2 separate regions of the Homo sapiens genome follow, and region 2 is linked to region 1. The links are contacts of gene promoters, found by promoter capture Hi-C in blood cells and fetal thymus (Javierre and others, 2016). All regions are on one chromosome and are shown on one strand. Each heading gives the region's core, a stretch centred on a gene start or on the middle of the fragment in contact. The rest is flanking DNA. Distances are from core to core; before and after follow the strand shown.

What was found. Contacts are between HindIII fragments. The CHiCAGO score rates a contact against its expected background, and 5 or more counts as called.
Region 2: a contact is called between a fragment that was not itself captured here and the fragment with the promoter of LINC03042 in region 1, in 1 of 17 cell types (M1 macrophages). The highest score is 5.3, in M1 macrophages.

What each region holds. Positions count from the first base shown.
Region 1 is chr8:38,527,405-38,530,104 of GRCh38, forward strand. LINC03042 (long intergenic non-protein coding RNA 3042) reads right to left here and starts at 1,258. Exons shown (of 3, transcript NR_167676.1): 1 at 919-1,258. RefSeq lists enhancers at 1-968, 225-1,424, 807-1,101, 863-912, 969-1,936 and 1 more. The HindIII fragment of the contact is 18,415 bases long and covers 1-2,700 here.
Region 2 is chr8:38,629,134-38,631,833 of GRCh38, forward strand. No RefSeq gene overlaps it. Among named protein-coding and RNA genes, the nearest start is that of LINC03042, 100 kb to the left of the region's middle. The HindIII fragment of the contact is 2,809 bases long and covers 1-2,662 here.

The DNA.
Region 1 (2,700 bases), core at 8-2,507:
AGGATGACGAGTCAGGAGTCCTGTGTGAGACATCCGCAAACATCTCATAAGCAGCTTCTGAATCACACAGCATCAAGGCTGCCAAAGTGCCTGGCCAATCTTGGACCTAGAGACCTAAGAATGGGTCTCCCTGTGGACTCCTCCTGACCTGGGTGGGGCAAGGCTCTTGGAAAATAGGTCAAATGACTCTCAGTCTAGAACCGTCTGGCCAGAGATGCCCCAACTTTGCCTTTTGGGCTATTCATCAAATCCAGCCTTTAGGACGTGACATCAGGGTTTCATTTCATGGGAAGATCTGGGTGCATTTTAGTTAAAAGAAGTGATGTCATCACATCCCTGCTGAAAAAAGGAAAAAGGACCCACTTTGTGCTGACATACCGAGTCCTGGGCAGGGAAGTCTGGACAGACACCTGGGTCCACACCTGGCTTTTCTACCAGCTAGCTCTGTGACTCTGGGACCATTGTGTCAGCTTTCTCTGCCACAGTTCCTCCCTCTGCAAAACGAAGGGCTTGAAATGCAGGATTCTAAGATTGTGGCCATCTCTGACTCTGATAACAACCCCGTGAGCCTGAAGAATTCAGCACTGCTGCTCCATAGGGGGTTTCAGCAGGAAGCGGGCACAGATGGCTTTCTCTGGAACGTGTTCAGAAATGTGGTGTGTGATGTACGGTGTGAATGAAGCGTGGTGCCCTTTAAACACAGCTTCCCCCTGGGAGTGCTCTGAGCTCCTCGGGTTCTCTGGCTCTCATTCACATTCCACTGTCACTCTGGGCACTGGCAGCCCTCACGTGCTTGTGCACTGAGCACACACACACCCCGCCCTGACTGACACACAATTGGTGACTCACAACTGACACAATCATTACACACATGGAATGACTCAGCGGGGACACTCACATGCATGGGCTCACGCTCACCGTGACGTGTAGAAGTGGCTGTGCTCGTGGCATCAGGCACCCCCACAGCAGCCTTGGTGGAGGCTCTCGCCAGCGGCGTCTGCAAATGATTTGCATTCTTGGCTCTTTGGAACTGCCTGTTCTTTGTCTCTCTGTTCGCTGCTCAACCCTTTCCTTCCCTTCTGTCCCAAACTTGGCTGGTTTTAGTCTCTTGCTCCCAAGCTCCTCAGCCAGCTTCCCGGACTGGCTCAGGCAGTCTCTAAGGCTCCTGCCAACTCCAAGATTGCTTCTAATCAACTCCTCAGCTGGGAGGAGTCCCTTCCCCAGGGGTCTCATTCCCTCCCTGACCTGAGCATCTCTTCCTGTCTTCTTCAGGAAGATCTTCAATATCTGTGCCATTTGAGCCAGCCCCTTTCGCTAGATAAGGAGCACCCAGAGCTAGTCACATGATAGAAAGTGCTGGCGGCTTCTGGAGGGTGGTCTTCAGTGTCTCTGAGGGTGCCCTTTCTCTTTCTGGCAGCCCAGGCAGATAGTAGTGTTGGGGTTCTTGAAAATCATCTTTGGGAGTTGAGCAGAACCAGCTGTTACTGGAGAAGCAGAGAAAAAAGATGCTGCACGTCCCAGCCATAATGGTCTGGGAGGGACCTACCCCAGAGCGGGAACCAGGGTGGGGAAGCAGTGCAGAGGAAAGAGAGGCCTGTGTCCATGGCTGCTGGCTGAGTTCTGATGGGAAGATAGGGGAACACGTCCTGGAGCTGCACTTCCTTGCAATTCATCTTCTGCTTTCAGATTTAAGGTTACTTTGCCTAGAATAGCTCCTGTCTTTCCTCTTTTCCTGGGGGAGCCCTCACACAGGAGAGGGAGTGTGGCAGAGTGTGATGTGAAGTCAGGGGTATAGGTGTAGCCTCTGCTAGTAGCTGTGGTCCTGGGCTAGACATTAACCACTGGAGTCTCTGCTTCCTTGGCTGTCAGATGTCCTAATACCACCTTTCTGTATCCTCTGATGTGGTGGCATAGATCAGGTGAGCTAGTAGATGTGACAGTGCTTTGACAAATTAAAAGTGGCACACAAATAAAAGTGAGAATTTGAACAGCAGCGAGGAGATGGTGGAGGGGCTGCCCACAGAATGTCCTGAGGGTCTTTGAGGGAGACCTGTAGATTCCCCTCCTGAATATGGGGTAAAGTCCTTGCTGGAATCCCAAGGCTGGATCAGGACCTCCTTTGACTCCGGCACCAGAGGCCCAGACAAGGACTTGCTAGGCCCCTGCTCTGGACCCAGCTGTCATTAAGCTGAGTGTTTTCCTGGAGAGAGGAGAAGGGGTCCTTCCATGTGGATTTTCCCTAAGTATAGATGCTGGCCCAGCAATGCCAAGAACTGAGACACCCTGTGCCTAGCTCTTGGCTGGCTGCTTATAGCTTGAAATGCCCTTTTCAACTCTGAAACTTTTAGAGTCTGGCAATCCTTGAGAGCGTTTTTTTCCTCCTGCTTGGGTGAGAGCTTTATCTTTGACCTCATTCTATCCATCTGAAGAACTAGAATCCAGAGGGAATGACCTTGCTTTGGCAGACCCGAGTCTTCGTCTCTCTGCCTCAAGTCCTTGCCCTGTGAATATCCTCAGCTCTCCCTGCAACTTCAAATCTGGAAAAGGCGCCAGGTGCAGTGGCTCACGCCTGTAATCTCAGCACTTTGGGAGGCTGAGGATGGTGGATCACCTGAGGTCAGGAGTTCGAGACCAGCCTGACCAACAGTGAAACCCCTGTCTCTACTAAAAATACAAAAATTAGCCCAGCGTGGTGGCGCG
Region 2 (2,700 bases), core at 8-2,507, 100 kb after region 1:
TTAAGCCATCAAGTGTTGGGGTAATTTGCTATGCAGTCAAAGATAACACCGACACAAGGGGAGACTAGTAAGAGATGAGCTCACAGAGCAAATGGGAGCCAGATCACGTAGGATCTGTTGATTATTAAAGCCCTTTGACATTTCCCTGTTGGAGGTGGGAAGCCCTTGGAGGGCTTAAAGGAGAGAAGGGAGATAGGTCATCCAACTTAAAAACCTATTGCCATAAGCCAGGTGAGAAAAGATGATGGGTTGGACCATGAGCATAATAGTCGAGGGATGGAAGTGGCCCAAATCTGAACATATTTTGAAGTAGAGTCAGTGGGATTTCCTGCTGGATTGGATGTGAGGTGTAACAGAAAGGAGTCAAGAATGACTCCAGGTGTTTCAATGGAGCAGGTAGAAGGATGGAGTCATCATCAAATGAGATAGAGAAGCCTGGGGGAAGATCAGGTTTAGGGGAAAAACTGACATGCTTATATGCTAAGTGAAATATGCCAGTCACAAAAACACACATTCTGTATGAGCCCACTTATATGAGGTCCCTAGTGTAGTTATATTTATAGAAATAGGAAGTAGAATGGTGGTTGCCAGGGGTTTGGGCAAAGGAGGAATGGAGGGGGCTTGTTTATTGGGTAAAGGGTTTGAGCTTTGCAAGATTAAAAGAGTTTTGGACATCTGTTTCACAACAATGCCAATGTACTTGATACTACTGATCTGTACTCTTAAAAATGATCAAGCTGGTAAATTTTATGTTGTATACATTTTTTCCATATTTAAAAAAATTGGCCGGGCGTGGTGGCTCATGCCTATAATTCCAGCACCTTGGGGGCCGAGGCGGGCAGATCACTTGAGGTCAGGGCTTTCAGATCAGCCTGGCCAACATGGAGAAACCTTGTCTCTACTAAAACTACAAAAATTAGCTGGACATGGTGGCGGGCACCTGTAATCCCAGCTACTCGAGAGGCCGAGCAGGAAAATCACTTGAACCCGGGAGGTGGAGATTGCAGTGTTGTGAGATCACGGCACTGCACTCCTGTCTAGGTGACAGAGTGAGAATCCATCTCAAAAAAAAAAAAATTAAGACAAAAGAAAAAGTAAGCAAACACTGGCTTTAAAATAAAATGAAGGCTGGGAGTAGTGGCTTAGGCCTGTAATCCCAGCACTTTGGGAGGCCGAGGCAGGCGGATCACGAGGTCAGGAGATCAAGACCATCCTGGCTAACACAGTGAAACCCTGTCTCCACTAAAAATACAAAAAATTAGCCGGGTGTGGTAGCAGGTGCCTGTAGTCCCAGCTACTCGGGAGGCTGAGGCAGGAGAATGGCGTGAACCCGGGAGGTGGAGCTTGCAGTGAGCCAAGATCGCACCACTGCACTCCAGCCTGGGCAACAGAGCGAGACTCCATCTCAAAAAAAAAAAAAAAAGAAGAAGAAATCCAAGCCAGAGCCCTGGGGTACTCAAGTGGGAAGAGGTCAGGGAGATGGGGAGGAACCAGAAAAGACTGATCATAGGGAGCATCTCATGAGGTAGGGGGAAAACTGGGACAGTATGCTATCTGGAAACCAAGTGAAGAAAGCATTTCAAGGTGACAGTGTTGATCAACTACGACAAATGCTCTCGAGGGGTCCAGAAAGGTAAACATTGGCTTGAACAATGTGGAGGTCATTGGTGACCTTGAGAAGTACAAGCTGAGCATCTCAAATCTGAAAATCTGAAATTCAAAGTTCTCCAAGATCAACAATTTTTGGAGTGCCCACATGATGCTCAAAAAAAAATGCTCATGGGAGAATTTTGAAATTTGCATTTTCAGATTTGGCCTGCTCAACCGGTAAGTAAATTGCAAATATTCAAAAATCAGAAAAAAAATCCAAAATTCGAAACACTTCTGGTCCCAAGCATTTGGGATAAGAGATACTCAGGCTGTATAATCTCAGCAGAATGGTAAGTGTGGCAGCCTGAAAGGGTGGGCTGTGAGAGGTTAGGAGAAGGAAAATTGGAGACAGTGAGTGTAGCTAACTTCCTAGGAGCTTTGTTCTAAAGGTGAGCAGAGGCGTGGAGTCAAGGAGGCTTTTGGTTTTGTTTTGAGATAGGTAAAATAATAGCATATTTGGACGTTGACAGGAATGATACAGGAGGGGAGAAACAGGAATGCTGCAGGAGAGAAAGAGGAAAATTGCTGGAGGGATGTCCTTGAATAGGCAAGAGGGGACGTGATCTAGTGCACACACGCAAGAGAGTACACTCCAACCTCAAAATCCCAAAGGTTCCAGTAATCCCCAACTGCGTAGCCAGATTCTCCCCCTACTCTGTATTTTTGCTCATGGTGCTTCCTCCCCTAGAAACATCCTTCTCTCACTGTGGCACACTGAACTCCTGACCTCAAAAGCCCTGCTAAGTTCTATCTTCCCCTCAAAGTCTTCCCTCATCACCCCACGGAGAAGAAGTTTCTCCCTTACCCCCACTGCCCAGAGTTCTTCATCCATGCCCTCTTGATTTTATTTTCTCCCTTGAATTGCAGTTTCATCTCCATCCTAAATGGAAAGCTACCCAAGTGAATGAGTGGGACCTCATCATCATGGTCATCATCATCATCATCACAGTTGTGCAGAGCTTACTATCTGCCAGCACCATGCGAAGTGCCCTATGCCATTTAATGAAATTGAAGCTTAATTTTACAAAGGAGCAAACAGAAGCTTGGAAT